4 separate regions of the Homo sapiens genome follow, and all the other regions are linked to region 2. Evidence: promoter capture Hi-C in 16 types of primary human blood cells and fetal thymus (Javierre and others, 2016). All regions are on one chromosome and are shown on one strand. The core of a region is centred on a gene start or on the middle of the fragment in contact, and the rest is flanking DNA. Distances in the headings are between cores, read along the strand shown.

What was found. Contacts are between HindIII fragments. The CHiCAGO score rates a contact against its expected background, and 5 or more counts as called.
Region 1: a contact is called between the fragment with the promoter of SIGLEC9 here and the fragment with the promoter of KLK1 in region 2, in 3 of 17 cell types (naive CD8 T cells, fetal thymus and activated CD4 T cells). The highest score is 6.9, in naive CD8 T cells.
Region 3: a contact is called between a fragment that was not itself captured here and the fragment with the promoter of KLK1 in region 2, in 1 of 17 cell types (total CD8 T cells). The highest score is 5.1, in total CD8 T cells.
Region 4: a contact is called between a fragment that was not itself captured here and the fragment with the promoter of KLK1 in region 2, in 1 of 17 cell types (naive CD8 T cells). The highest score is 5.1, in naive CD8 T cells.

The regions. Positions count from the first base shown.
Region 1 is chr19:51,123,282-51,126,633 of GRCh38, reverse strand. SIGLEC9 (sialic acid binding Ig like lectin 9) reads right to left here and starts at 1,728. Exons shown (of 7, transcript NM_014441.3): 1 at 1,239-1,728; 2 at 759-1,037; 3 at 506-553. The coding sequence starts at 1,659. The HindIII fragment of the contact is 17,590 bases long and covers 1-3,352 here.
Region 2 is chr19:50,821,854-50,825,090 of GRCh38, reverse strand. It overlaps KLK1 (kallikrein 1), which reads left to right and starts at 1,304. Exons shown (of 5, transcript NM_002257.4): 1 at 1,304-1,388; 2 at 3,220-3,237. The coding sequence starts at 1,343. The HindIII fragment of the contact is 16,614 bases long and covers 1-3,237 here.
Region 3 is chr19:50,521,582-50,524,902 of GRCh38, reverse strand. All of the region lies in intron 2 of LRRC4B (leucine rich repeat containing 4B), which reads left to right. The region is part of intron 1 of LOC124904747 (a long non-coding RNA gene); the gene reads right to left. Among named protein-coding and RNA genes, the nearest start is that of ASPDH, 9.3 kb to the right of the region's middle. The HindIII fragment of the contact is 1,201 bases long and covers 913-2,113 here.
Region 4 is chr19:50,334,348-50,337,460 of GRCh38, reverse strand. All of the region lies in intron 1 of LOC105372437 (a long non-coding RNA gene), which reads right to left. It also overlaps the pseudogene NAPSB. Among named protein-coding and RNA genes, the nearest start is that of KCNC3, 6.5 kb to the right of the region's middle. RefSeq lists an enhancer at 2,891-3,113. The HindIII fragment of the contact is 4,846 bases long and covers 1-3,113 here.

The DNA of each region.
Region 1 (3,352 bases), core at 479-2,978, 300 kb before region 2:
GACAGTCTCACTACGGACGTCAAACCACCTCTGAGATCCTCCAGGTGTACAAACCGAGACTCAGGGCAGCCTGGATGGACAGTGGTTGGTTCTGGGGAGGGGGGCAGGCATCGGAGGAGAGCCTTTGCTCTGCAATTTGAATTTTTGCCCATGGACATTTATCACCTGTCCAGAAGTACTTAGATCAGAACTATCAGAAATAAACAGATAAGGGTGGAGATGTATTCAGGAGATACATGAGAAGGAGCCTCAAAGCCTGGTCCTGCTGTGTGAATGCCACCCTCTTCTTGTTTGAGGCTGAGGGGGGGGTGTGTGGGGGAGTCCAAGGGAGGTGATGGGAGGATGGGAACAAGTGGCCTTGGGGCCTAAGGATACAGAGGGGCCCTGAGTTCACCCACAAGGACATCCCTGTTTGCCAAAGTGAGTCCAGGTTGAGGAATAAGCCAGCCCCATCCTGACCTGAAGGCCCTGCTCCTCCAGCCCCAGGGAGGGAGCTCCATCCTACCTGTGCCGTCTCCTTGGAAGACAGTCATGGTCAAGTTCTGAGGCGGGTCTGGGACAGAAAGACATGGAGACCCGCATCACTGTGAGGGCTGGGGACACTGGCCCTGTCTGTCCCCAGGAGCCGCATAAACAGGGAAGGCAGAGCCAGTGTCCTCCTGACCCCACCACCAGCCCAGATTCCGGGACCCAGCACCCAGTGTCCAGGCTTGACGCTCACCCCATCAGGGACCCAGGCGTCCCGGCCCAGCACTCACAGGACACGTTGAGATGGACGGTCTTGTTCGTGGTCACGCTGGCCCCAGGGAAGGTCACCTGACAGGTGAGGCTGGTGCCATGGTCCTGGGGCTGTGGGATGAGGGTGAGCACCGAGGAGCGGGTGGTGGAGGGGTCCAGGGGGGACACGGAGGTCCCTATCCAGGAGATCATAGGGGGTGTCCCCTGCTCACAGGCCCAGGGCACAGAGCAGGTCAGATTCTGGGGGCAGCCGGACTCCAGGGTGCCTGGGATGAGGATGTTGGGCCTGTGGGTCAAGGCTGGTGAAGAGAGGGGGACTCAGGATCAGGTCAGAGGATCCATGGTGCAGCCCTGGGGGGAGCTCAGGCTCTGGTCCAGCTCCTGCCCTGAGCCAACTCGCTTCACCCTAAGCCCTCTCCTGGGGCAGGGGCTCCATCCCAGCCTTTCCCTGCCGCCCCCATGACCTTTCCCTGTGGCCTTTCCTGGAGCCTGTGCCTTACCTGTCACATTCACAGAGAGCCGGTGATGTTTATAATTCCATTTTATACTTCCTTTCTCCATACGAAAGAAGTATCTCCCCGCATCACTTCTTCTGGCATCTCTGATGCTCAGGGTGCAATTCTTGGTATGTGGGTCCCCAAGGAGGTGGAATCGGTCCCGAGTCTCCTCCCACACTGCCCGAGCTGGGTTGTTTGTGGCCACTGGAGCATCCTGGTCTGTATTGGCCCCTTCCCGGAACCAGTAGCCATGAACTACTGGGCCAGGGTAAATCCAGCCATGCGAGGGGTAGGAGAAGGAGCAGGGCACATGGACACACAGGCCTTCCTGCACCGTCACGGAACTCTGCATCGTCAGCAGTTTACTTGTCTGTCCTTCCGCCCTCTCCCTCCCCCAGAGCAGGGGCAGCAGCAGCAGCAGCATGTCTGGGGTTAGAGGTGCCAGGGCCGCGAGGGAACGTCTGTTCCTCAGGGTTCTTCTCTCAGGAACTGCGGGCTCAAGACTTAGAGGAGGCCCTACAGGAAGACAGGGGCGAGGTCGGAACAGTGACCTCCTCAGAGGAGGAACTTTACACCCAGACACTGTCAGGCCCGGGTCAGCCCTGGGAGATCCACCGTCCACCACCCCATGTTCACTCCTGGGTCCCTGAGGCCAGAGCGGGAGACAGACTCACCCAGATTCCCACCCCATGCAGGGCCCACCCCACCTCCTGCCTCCCTCTCAATGCCCTTCCCCTTAGGTGACATTTTCTGCAGGGTGAAAATGAGTCCCATCTGGCCAGACCCCTGAGTCAGAGGCTGTGGATATCTGCGTAGCTCAGAGGTGGGACTTGGGGCCATGAGAGATGGGGGTGCAGGTGGGGTGAGCAGGCAGCCTCTCATCCCCCCCAAGCAAGCACGAGGTGGGCACCCCCTTTCTGCACAACGAGGTCAACACAGCAGAGCTGGACACTGTCCCCAAGGGGTCACTGTGCGGAGGGGAGACATGGAGGCTCCTGACGTCTGAGCTGTCCACGGCAGGAGCTTCAGTTGGGGGGCACAGGCAGGATGGGGTCACTCTCCCGTAGGTCAGGGGTTCAATCTCAGGAGGACTGAGCAGAGGGACATGGGGCTGTGGAGGTGAGGATTCTATGTGTTGATACACGCCAAGGACACAGAGGGGAGCCTGGCTCGCAGGAGGTCTGGGAAACTGAGGCTGTGACTGTTGTACTGTGGGGCTTGGAAGGGAGGAAATTCGGAAGAAAAGGGGCAGATTTCAAAAGGGAAGATATTTCTCCTTTCCTCACTGCACCACGAAGGGTTTCTTCACCACCGATGTCTCGCTCAGCCACACTTCCCTGGTTACTCCAGAACATGAGGGATCAGCTGGCCCTGGGGCTTTGCTTCTGCAAGCTCTGCTCCCAGGGGTCCCGGTGAACAGGAGATGTGGAGTGAGGACACCAGCCCCGGGGCATGCACCCTCCGCGATGGGCAGGATTTCATGGGAGAAGAAACATGCACCTGAATTCAGCAGAAGATTTTTTGTAACTGTGTGGCTGGGCTGGGAGGAACTGGGAGTATCCTGTGTGGTGGAGCCTCCTTAGACCGATGTCAGTTTTCTAGAAATATTTTTGGGAGAAATATAAGCCATATAGATAAAAATGTCTTCCCCCCAAGAAAAAATCTCAGCGGTTTACACATATGAACATGCTTAGAGAAACAGAACACTGGGGATGCCGCAACACCTCCTCTTTGTTACCCCACTTCCTGTCAGCCACACCCCACTTCCTCCTGAAGCAGCCCCAGCCTCACTTTAACGCTAATGGTCTCCATGCTTTTCTAGGTAGTTTTATCATCTGTGCACGTTGCCGTGAATACCTCAGGCCCCCATGTTTGCCCAGTCGCTCCCTGGGAAGTTGCAGCATCTCAACTGCAATGGTCAGAAGGGCTGAGCCATGGCTGACAGTGTTGTCCTGCATCTGTTCTGCAGGGCTGGGTGTCCACATCTGAGTTCTGTCTTGAGCAGGAGGGGCTCAGTCAGGCCTCTCAGCACTGCTCCCCTGGGGCCCTCCACACCTGCAGAGCCAACACGGGCCTCAGATTAGCATCGGCCACTTCAATTCTAACTCAGGCGGGAC
Region 2 (3,237 bases), core at 55-2,554:
CCATCTCTACTAAAAATACTAAAAAAATTTAGCCGGGCGTGGTGGCACACGACTGTAATCCTAGCTACTTGGGAGGGTGATGTGGGAGGATCGCTTGAACTTAGGAGGCAGGAGTTGCAGTGAGCCGAGATCGCGCCACTGCACTCCAGCCTGGTGACAGAGCAAGACTCCATCTCAGAAAAAAAAAAAAAAAAAAAAAGATTTAGTTCTGGGCTTCCTGGTAGCCATGGCAAAAAGGCAAATACTGTCCTTTCCTTAGCCAGGTCCCTGATATACAGCAGAGGCTGGAACTCTGAGCTGCTTTGATTTTACCAAAAAGCCAAGACAACCTGTTGGAAGCCTATGGGTTTACCATTGAGGCTGCAGGAATCTAGTTCCTAATTATCTTCAGAGACCACAAAATGTGATGTTCAAGGTCGCTGAATGTTGAAGTACATGAACCTGGCTCGTGAGACCTAAATATTGTACTGGTGGTGGGGGGGAAGGGTCATTGGAATCTGTGGTTAGCCTGATCTTGACCTGGGAGGGAAGGTTGTCCAGATCTCTGGGACTTTGGAGGACAGGACGTTGAGCACCCATAACTGGGAGCAAGAAGTGGGAGGCTCATTGAGACCCCAGCATTGTTTGGGAGGGACACTGGATTTTGTAATGCTAAAGAACTTACCCTGGGAGACCCCTGAAACTTCACATTCCTGGATCTGGAGGCACTAGGAATGTGGTGATGTGTACCCCAAAATTTTATTATGAAAGGAACAGTAGCTTTGGGGACCTAGGTCCTGGGTCTGGGAGTGCAAGAACCAGGGCATTCTGAAGGCCAAGGCTTATATTTCAGGGGGAACTGGCAGCTGAGATGCTAGTATCTTGGCTCCGAGTGGTGCAGGGAATCAGAGCCCTAACTGCTGGTGTTTGAGGGCACCAGGTCTGGGGGTGCAGGGCCTTAATTGAGACTGAGGTATATGGGGCTTTGTACCAGGGGTCACTGATTCCTCCGTCTTCCTGTTTCTGCTTCCCCTCAGTCCCCCCTTGCCTCACTGGCTGCTCCCCAGAGCAAAGCCCCAGAGCCACAGGCCCTGCCCCACCTGGCTTCAACCCCAGGAATGCGTCCAGCGTGATCCAGGGCCTGCAGAACAGGTGCTGGTTCTCCCTCCCCGTCTACAGCTCTGGGGATCGGAGGGGGGGGGGGCAATTGTCCAGCCCCCAGGCAACAGGGGAAGGGCCTTGGCCAACATCTGGGTGCCAGCAGGGCAGGGGTGGGGCTCTGAGGGGATAAGGGCTTTTAAAAGCCTCCCCAGGGAGGTTCCCCAGTTCCTCCACCTGCTGGCCCCTGGACACCTCTGTCACCATGTGGTTCCTGGTTCTGTGCCTCGCCCTGTCCCTGGGGGGGACTGGTGAGACAGTGGGGGGATGTGGGAGGGGGAACGGGCCCTGATTCTCTTGCTGGCCTCACATCCCCCCCCGATAAGACCTTCCCCTCCAACACCCCACCCTCATCCCTCTGGCCCACAGTCTATCCTAGTCCGGGGTGCCCCGGCTCTTATCTATCTTGCGCGGCCCCACCCTAAACTTCCACCCCCGCTCCTCCATGTTGTCATAGTGCTCACTCCCACACCAGATTCCTGCTCCTCCCAGGAAGCCTCAGTACTTTCTCCTCTTCCCTAGCCAACGCCCTGTCCCACCGCTTTACCAAAGGGGCAGATTCTGGGCCATCTCTGTCTCTCTCTGGAGGACCCCAACCCTCCCATGGGCTTCCCCCACCCCACAGGACTCTGATCATCCCCTCCTGCCCCCTAGTTCCCTGCGGCCACCTATTTGGCTCCTGAGTCTACAAATCCCACCACACTCCAGTGACTTTTTCCATCCAGCTGTCCGCTCTCAACTGTGTCCTCCAGACCCTGACATCTGGTCTCCCCAGTCCTTCCAGGGTCCCCCAAATTTCACCAGAAAACCCTGCTTCCCAAACTGGCATGTGGGATCCCCCATCTGGTATGGGGGGGGGTCTGCAAATGTCCCTTCCCACCCAGCACCCCCAGCTCTCCCAGGAAAAACACCACACCCTCCCACCACATGCTCCTTTCCTTGGGGAAGTTCCATCCCGCCCCAGGCCCCAGCCCTTCTCTGCCTGAATTGTTCCTACACAGCTCTGGTTTTCTGGAACCCCACCCCAAGGATCCTGAATGCCTTCTCAGCCAGCGCTTCTGCCCTGGCCTCCCCCAAGTCAGTATGTGATTCTACAACCTCACGTCAAGTGGGTCCTGCATTGCATTCCCACAGCTGCTTGGCGCCTGTTCTCACCACTTCTCCAATCCTCTTCCTAGGATTGCCTCCAAGAGGACCCCATATCCTTCCAGTACCCTCAGACCATGAACCCCATCCCCATGAGAAACGAAGATCCCATCCTTCACCCTGTCCGAGAAGGACTGCCACTCACGCCTCCCTCCTCCTGAGCCCCGTCCCAGTCCTGACCGCAACTGTGTTCTCAGGGCCCCAACCTCCCCTCAGATTGCCATTCCTGGTTCACAGGAAGGACCCCAAAACCTCTCGGAAGCCCACCTCTAGCCTTAACCATAGCCCTTTCTTTTACCCTTTAACCAGGAAGCCCTGAAATCTAACTGTCCCAGCCAAGCTGGCCCCTTCCAACCCCAATGTAGGGACCCCAAGTCACCCCCAAACTCTTCAGTCCAGATGCTCTTCTTTACCTCTCAGACCTGGTTCCCTAAAGCTGCATCCTTTCCTGAACCTCAAAAGCCCAACCCAGGTCCTGTTTCCCTAGCCTAGGAGCCCCTTAGCCCTCCAGATTCTTCCTCAGTGAGCCTCTGATCCTGTCCCACCCTTGGCGCCTTGATCCCTGGTTTCCAGAATCCCTTTCCACTCCCCTAACCCACCACCTCCCATCCCCCAGCCCCAGACCCCAAATGACCTGACGCCCAGATGCAGTGTCTGCTCCAGACACTGTCTCCTGTCTCCTACCCTGATCCCTGGAGGCTGCTCTACTGTCAGAGCACAAAATCTCCCCACCAGGTCCAGCCACCACTCCAAAAGCCCAGGGAACAGTCCAGAGTCCCACCCCTTCCCAACACCCCTTGCCCATGTCCCCAACCTCCAGCCCTGGTCCTCTACCCGCAATGTCCCTTCAGACCCACAGCCCAGCTCCCTCTCCTAGCCTTGTCCCTGGCCTCTCCTGCCAACCCTGCCCTTCCTGACCCAGCACCGCCTCTGCAGGTGCTGCGCCCCCGATTC
Region 3 (3,321 bases), core at 264-2,763, 300 kb after region 2:
GTGTCCACAGAGCGTCCCTGGGCACCGAGTAAACCCGCAGCATCTCACAGGGCAGCCGCCAGCATCGGGGCTGCTGGCTGGGCTCGGGGACTGCATGCGTTGCTACTGAGAGGTGCCCTGGACGCCCTGGGTGTAAAACACATGTTGGGTTTCCTTGGATTTCGAAGCTCCACCATAAAGAGTGTAAAATGGCTCAATCGCAAGTTTGCATCTGATGACAGGTTCAAATGAGAGTATTTTGGACCTGTTGAGCTAAATAAATATATTAGTAAAGTTGATTTCACCTGTTTGGTTTTTTCTTTATTATTATTTCAATGTGGCTTCTAGGAAATTTAAAATTACACATGTGGGCTGGGTGTGGTGGCTCACACCTATAATCCCAGCACTTTGGGAGGCTGAGACGGGAGGATCGCTTGAGGCCAGGAGTTTGAGACCAGCCTGGGCAACATAGGGAGACCCCATCTCTACAAAAAATTAAAATAAAATAAAATTAGCCAGGTGTGCTGGCACGTGCCTGTAGTCCCAGCTACTCAGGAGGCTGAGGCGAGCAGATCACTTGAGCCCAGACGGTCAAGGCTGCAGTGAGCCGAGACTGCGCCACTGCACTCCAGCCTGGGTGACACAGCAAGACTCTGTCTTAAAACAAAACAACCAAACAAACATTACACACGTGTTCACATTCTATTTCTATTGGACAGCACCGACATACATTATTATTATTTTATGATTCTGCCTATGCCACAGATTCTACCATTTCTTACGCTGTTTGCCTCTCAGGTATATCTGGGTTTGGTTTTGTTTTTATTCCTGCTTACTGTAAAAGTAATTTTTCCTCATTGAGGAAAAAATATCACACAAGAATAAAAATTGTCCATAATTCCCAACAGATAAAGTTCACTACTAAGAAAAGCTTGGAGTATGTCCTTCCAGTTTTTTTTTTTTTTTAGACAGAGTCTCACTCTGTCACCCAGGCTGGAGTGCAACTGGGCGATCTTGGCTCACTGCAACCTCCGCCTCCCGGGTTCAAGAGATTCTCCTGCCTCAGCCTCCCAAGTAGCTGGGATTACAGGCACCTGCCACCATGCCTGACTAATTTTTTGTATTTTTAGTAGAGATGGGGTTTCGCCATGTTGGCCAAGCTGGTCTCGAAATCCTGACCCAGGTGATCCACCTGCCTTGGCCTCTCAGAGTGCTAGGATTACAGGCATGAGCCACCATGCCCGGCCTCTTTTTTGTTTTTAAGATGGAGTCTCACTGTGTTGCCCAGGCCAGAGTGCAGTGGCGCGATCTCGGCTCACTGCAACCTCCGCCTCCCTCTTGCCTCAGTCTCCCGAGTAACTGGGATTACAGGCACCCCCCACCACCCCCGGCTAATTTTTGTATTTTTAGCAGAGACGGAGTTTTATCATGTTGGCCAGGCTGGTCTCAAACTCCCAACCTCAACTGATCTGCCCGCCTCGGCCTACCTAAGTGCTGGGATTACAGGTGTGAGCCACCACGCCCGGCCTCTTTTTCTCTTTTTTCTTTTGGTGCATATACTCTGATACCTAATTCTTCAGCTTCTTTGTGATGACACAGGATGCATCTGAGGTTCTCAGTTTCCTCCGTTAATACTGTAACACCGCATTCCCCCAGTGTCCGTCCCCTTCTCCCTGGCACACACCACTATCTGGGCTTTGCAGATATGATCCAATGGCTGTGTGGCCTTCTGGGCCTCAGTGCACCCGGCGTGGTCATCAGTAGTGAGGACCCTGTGAGCTCCTGCCTCCCGTGCTCTGACCCAGCACTGCCCCTCCCGTGGACCCCAGCTCCAGCCCTGAGAGGCGGCAGCCAGGGTCAGAGGTCAAGAGCCAGGACTCTGGAACCAGAGGGCCTGGATCCAGTCCCAACTCTGCTGTCCACTTCTGTGTGACCTTGGGCAAGTCACTGCACCTCCCTGGGCCTAATTCATCATCCTTCGTGTGAAACTCTTGAGGTCTGATGCGTTTTGACATTCCGATATTAGAAACATAGTAATAGATAGTATAGGTTTTATAATATCTTAGTGGTCTTGAAACATGGGAATTTCTAGAATGAAATGTTTGGATAGTCACGAGTGGGATCAATAAAAGCTTTACTTTCATGTGGCTGGGTGAGGTGGCTCACGCCGGTAATCCCAGCACTTTGGAAGGCCAAGGCGGGTGGATCACCTGAGGCCAGGAGTTCGAGACCAGCCTGGCCAACATGGCAAAACCCTGTCTCTACTAAAAATACAAAAAATTAGCCAAGCGTGTTGATGCGTGCCTGTAATCCCAGCTACTTGTGAGGCTGAGGCAGGAGAATCACTTGAACCCGGCAGGCAGAGGTTGCAGTGAGCCGAGATCACGCCTCTGCACTCCAGGCTGGGCGACAGAGCGAGACTCCATCTCAAAATAAATAAATAAATAAATAAATAAATAAATAATAAATAAAATAGCTTCACATGAGTTCTGATCGGGTTTTGCCACCAAGTGGGATTTGGTGTCAAAGTTTGGAAAAATCTGATTGTTAGGGCCTTAAGAATTTTGGAATTGCAGGTATCGAATAAGGACTGGTAATAGTGCCCATCTCACAGGGCAGTTTGGAGGATTAAAAGAGTTATTACCCACAAAATGTTTAGAACAGTGTCTGGCACCAAAGATGTGTTCAATGTGTCTTAGTTGCTGGTATTACTATTTTCATTTTGTATATTTATTTATTTATTTTGGGGACGGGATCTCCCTCTGTCACGCAGGCTGGAGCTCAGTGGCACGATCACAGTTCACTGCAGCCTTGGCCTCCTGGGCTCAGGCGATCCTCCCATCTTAGCCTTCTGAGTAGCTGGGACCACAGGTGCATGCCATCACACAGGGCTAATTTTCGTATTTGTCTGTAGAGACAGGGGTCTTGCTTTGTTGACCAGGATTGTCTTCAATTCCCGAGCTCAAGTGATCCTCCCACCTCGGCCTCCCAAAGTGCTGGGATTACTGCTGTGAGCCACCATGCCCAGCCTTATTTTTTTCATTTTTAAAACTATGTATAGTGGCCGGGCACGGTGGTTCACGCCTGTAATTTCCCAGCACTTTGGGAGGCCAAGGCAGGCAGATCACTTCAGATTGGGAGTTCAAGAACAGTCTGGCCAACATGGGGAAACCCCGTCTCTACTAAAAATACAAAATTGGCTGGGCACGGTGGCTCACGCCTGTAATCCCAGCACTTTGGGAGGCTGAGGCGGGTGGATCACGAGGTCAGGAGTTCAAGACCAGCCTGGCCAACATGGTGAAACCCCATCTCTACTAAAAATACAAAAATTAGCCAGGCGTG
Region 4 (3,113 bases), core at 41-2,540, 490 kb after region 2:
TTGCCTCCTCAGGCCCAGTATTTTGGGGAAATTGGGCTGGGAACGCCTCCACAAAACTTCACTGTTGCCTTTGACACTGGCTCCTCCAATCTCTGGGTCCCGTCCAGGAGATGCCACTTCTTCAGTGTGCCCTGCTGTGAGCTTCTATGTGGGAGAATAAGGCTGAATGGGGGTGAAGGGAGAAGGCGGGGCTGGGCCTCAGCTTCCCAAAGGTTTTTGAGGAACTGTTCTTTTCTGACACCCTCAAAGGTCAGAAGGTTAAAGGGGCAGAAGGCATTCGGAAAGCTCCCCTCCCACAGTGACACCTCTCTGACTTCTGACCTAGGGTTCCACCACCGCTTCAATCCCAATGCCTCCAGCTCCTTCAAGCCCAGTGGGACCAAGTTTGCCATTCAGTATGGAACTGGGCGGGTAGATGGAATCCTGAGTGAGGACAAGCTGACTGTGAGTGGCCTTTGACTCCAGGAAGCCTCGAGCCTGGGAGAACCCTGTTGTCTAAGATCATCTGGCTTAGGGAGGGGCTTGAGGTGCAGGGGCTTCCTGAGCCGATGGATGGGGCTTCTCAAGGAGGGGGAGGGGTTCCTGGGTGAAGGGATAGGAATTCTCTCAAGTCCAGAGGCAAAGTTTGCTAAGCAGTTGGGGGCTTGGGTCCAGATGTCCCCAGACCTGGGATTAATGCTTTGGTTTGGGAGACCTCAGGACATGTGGTTATTGTCCTCCCAAAAGTAACTGGTCACATCTCAATCTACCCCTAGATTGGTGGAATCAAGGGTGCATCCGTGATTTTCGGGGAAGCTCTGTGGGAATCCAGCCTGGTCTTCACTGTTTCCCGCCCCGATGGGATATTGGGCCTCGGTTTTCCCATTCTGTCTGTGGAAGGAGTTCGGCCCCCGCTGGATGTACTGGTGGAGCAGGGGCTATTGGATAAGCCTGTCTTCTCCTTTTACTTCAACAGGTGCTGGGGAGGGTGCACCTATCTATGAGTCCTATTCCTCAGAAGGAAGTGAGGCCCTCCTTCAGGAAGTCTCTTACTCCATAAAGAAAGTCCCAGTTCAGGCACGGTGGCTCATGCCCGTAATCCCAGCAATTTGGGAGGCTGAGGCAGATTGATCACCTGAAGTCAAGAGTTCCAGACCAGCCTGGCTAACATGGTGAAACCCCATCTGTACTAAAACTATAAAAATTAGCTGGGTGCGGTGGCACATGCCTGTAATCCCAGCTACTTGAGAGGCTGAGGCAGGAGAATTGCTTGAATCCGGGAGGTGGAGGTTGCAGTGAGCCGAGATCGCACCACTGCTCTCCAGTCTGGGTGACAGAGAGAGACCGTCTCCAAAAAAAAAAAAAAAAAAAAAAAATCAATCCCACCCTTCATTCAGGAAGTAGCCACCTACCTAACAGAAGAAACACCTCAACCCTATTCATAAGCCCCAGAGCTTAAGTGACAACTTAAGACATATTAAAGAAACTCACCAACAGTTCAATATGCTGAGTTTCAAAATCAAACTAGGAAATTCTATGCCCCACCCAACCAAATACTCAGGAACCTTCTCTTCACCATAAAGCTCAAATCCCATTTGAGAACACTGACCAGAAGTCAGGAAATGCCTGATTGAATTCACGAAGCCCCACCCACCTGGTAGGAAGGTCAATCTTATGCTCAGAAGTCCCACCCACCACCCGAGAAGTCTTCACTTTCCCTCCCAGGGCCCATCACACACAGTCCAATGCCCACTCAGTTACCCTGACATCCAACCCACTCAAGAAGTTCCACCTAGCTCTCGGTAGGTCCCACTCATTTACATCTTCCAGGAAGTTTCCATCCCCGTTCCCATCACTCTCAGCCAGCTCAGGAAGTCTAACACCTTTCTAGATACCACAACAGGCAATTCAGAAAGTCTATGCACCTTCCCAGGAAGCCACCCCACTCCTGTACAAGTCACACCTTCGAGCCAATTCTGAGACTCCACTGGTCTGCTTGGTTACTATGATATTCAGCTCAGGAATTTCCCCCAAAAGCTCTACCTTCCACAGCCAAATGAAGAAGTCTCCTCTCCACTTCAGGAAGTATCCATCATCCTAAAGTCCTAACTTCCATCAAGAAAAGCACCATTTCCCTTCATTTCTTGTTTCCAGTCCCAACATCTCGGCCCTGCCTGCATTCCACTGCCCCAACTAGAACCCCAAAAATGACCCAATTGGCAGGAAGTCCCATCCCTGGCCATTCCTAGGGCTGGCGGGGGAGGGCTGGCGACAATGACCTCTACACTCTGCCCCTGCAGGGACCCTGAAGTGGCTGATGGAGGAGAGCTGGTCCTGGGGGGCTCAGACCCGGCACACTACATCCCACCCCTCACCTTCGTGCCAGTCACAGTCCCCGCCTACTGGCAGATCCACATGGAGCGGTGAGGGACTTGGTCTCCTGGGTCTGGAGCTGGAGGCCTGGACTCCTAGGACCCTGCCTCTAATGACTGCTTCCTTCCCCCTCAGTGTGAAGGTGGGCTCACGGCTGACTCTCTGTGCCCAGGGCTGTGCTGCCATCCTGGATACAGGCACACCTGTCATCGTAGGACCCACTGAGGAGATCCGGGCCCTGCATGCAGCCATTGGGGGAATCCCCTTGCTGGCTGGGGAGGTGAGGTCCCAGTCTCTGGTGGGTGTGTCCTGGGGAAGATGATGGCAATTCCATGGCGAACACTGCGGCCTGAGGATGGGAAGCAGGTAGCTAGAGCGTATCCAGGACAGAGGGGACTGGGCTTCTTAAGTGACATGCCAGAGAGTGGTGGGAGGAAGCAAAGATACTTCCCAAGTGTCTATGCTAAGTGGCTCAGTGGATGGTGAAGTAGGGGTGGGAGTGGGGGGGGGGTTGTTGGGGGAGATGATAATGCAGTTTTGTTTGGGACTAGATGAGAGGAGCCTAGGCAACAGGGCTGTCCACACACGGTGCTGAATACCCAGGTGCTCAATATGAACATTACTCCATGGCACTGGGGAGCCACGGACGGGATTTGAGCAGAGCAGGAATCTCCCATCTTCACTTGTTCCTCTCCTCCACCAGTACATCATCCGGTGCTCAGAAATCCCAAAGCTCCCCGCAGTCTCACTCCTCATTGGGG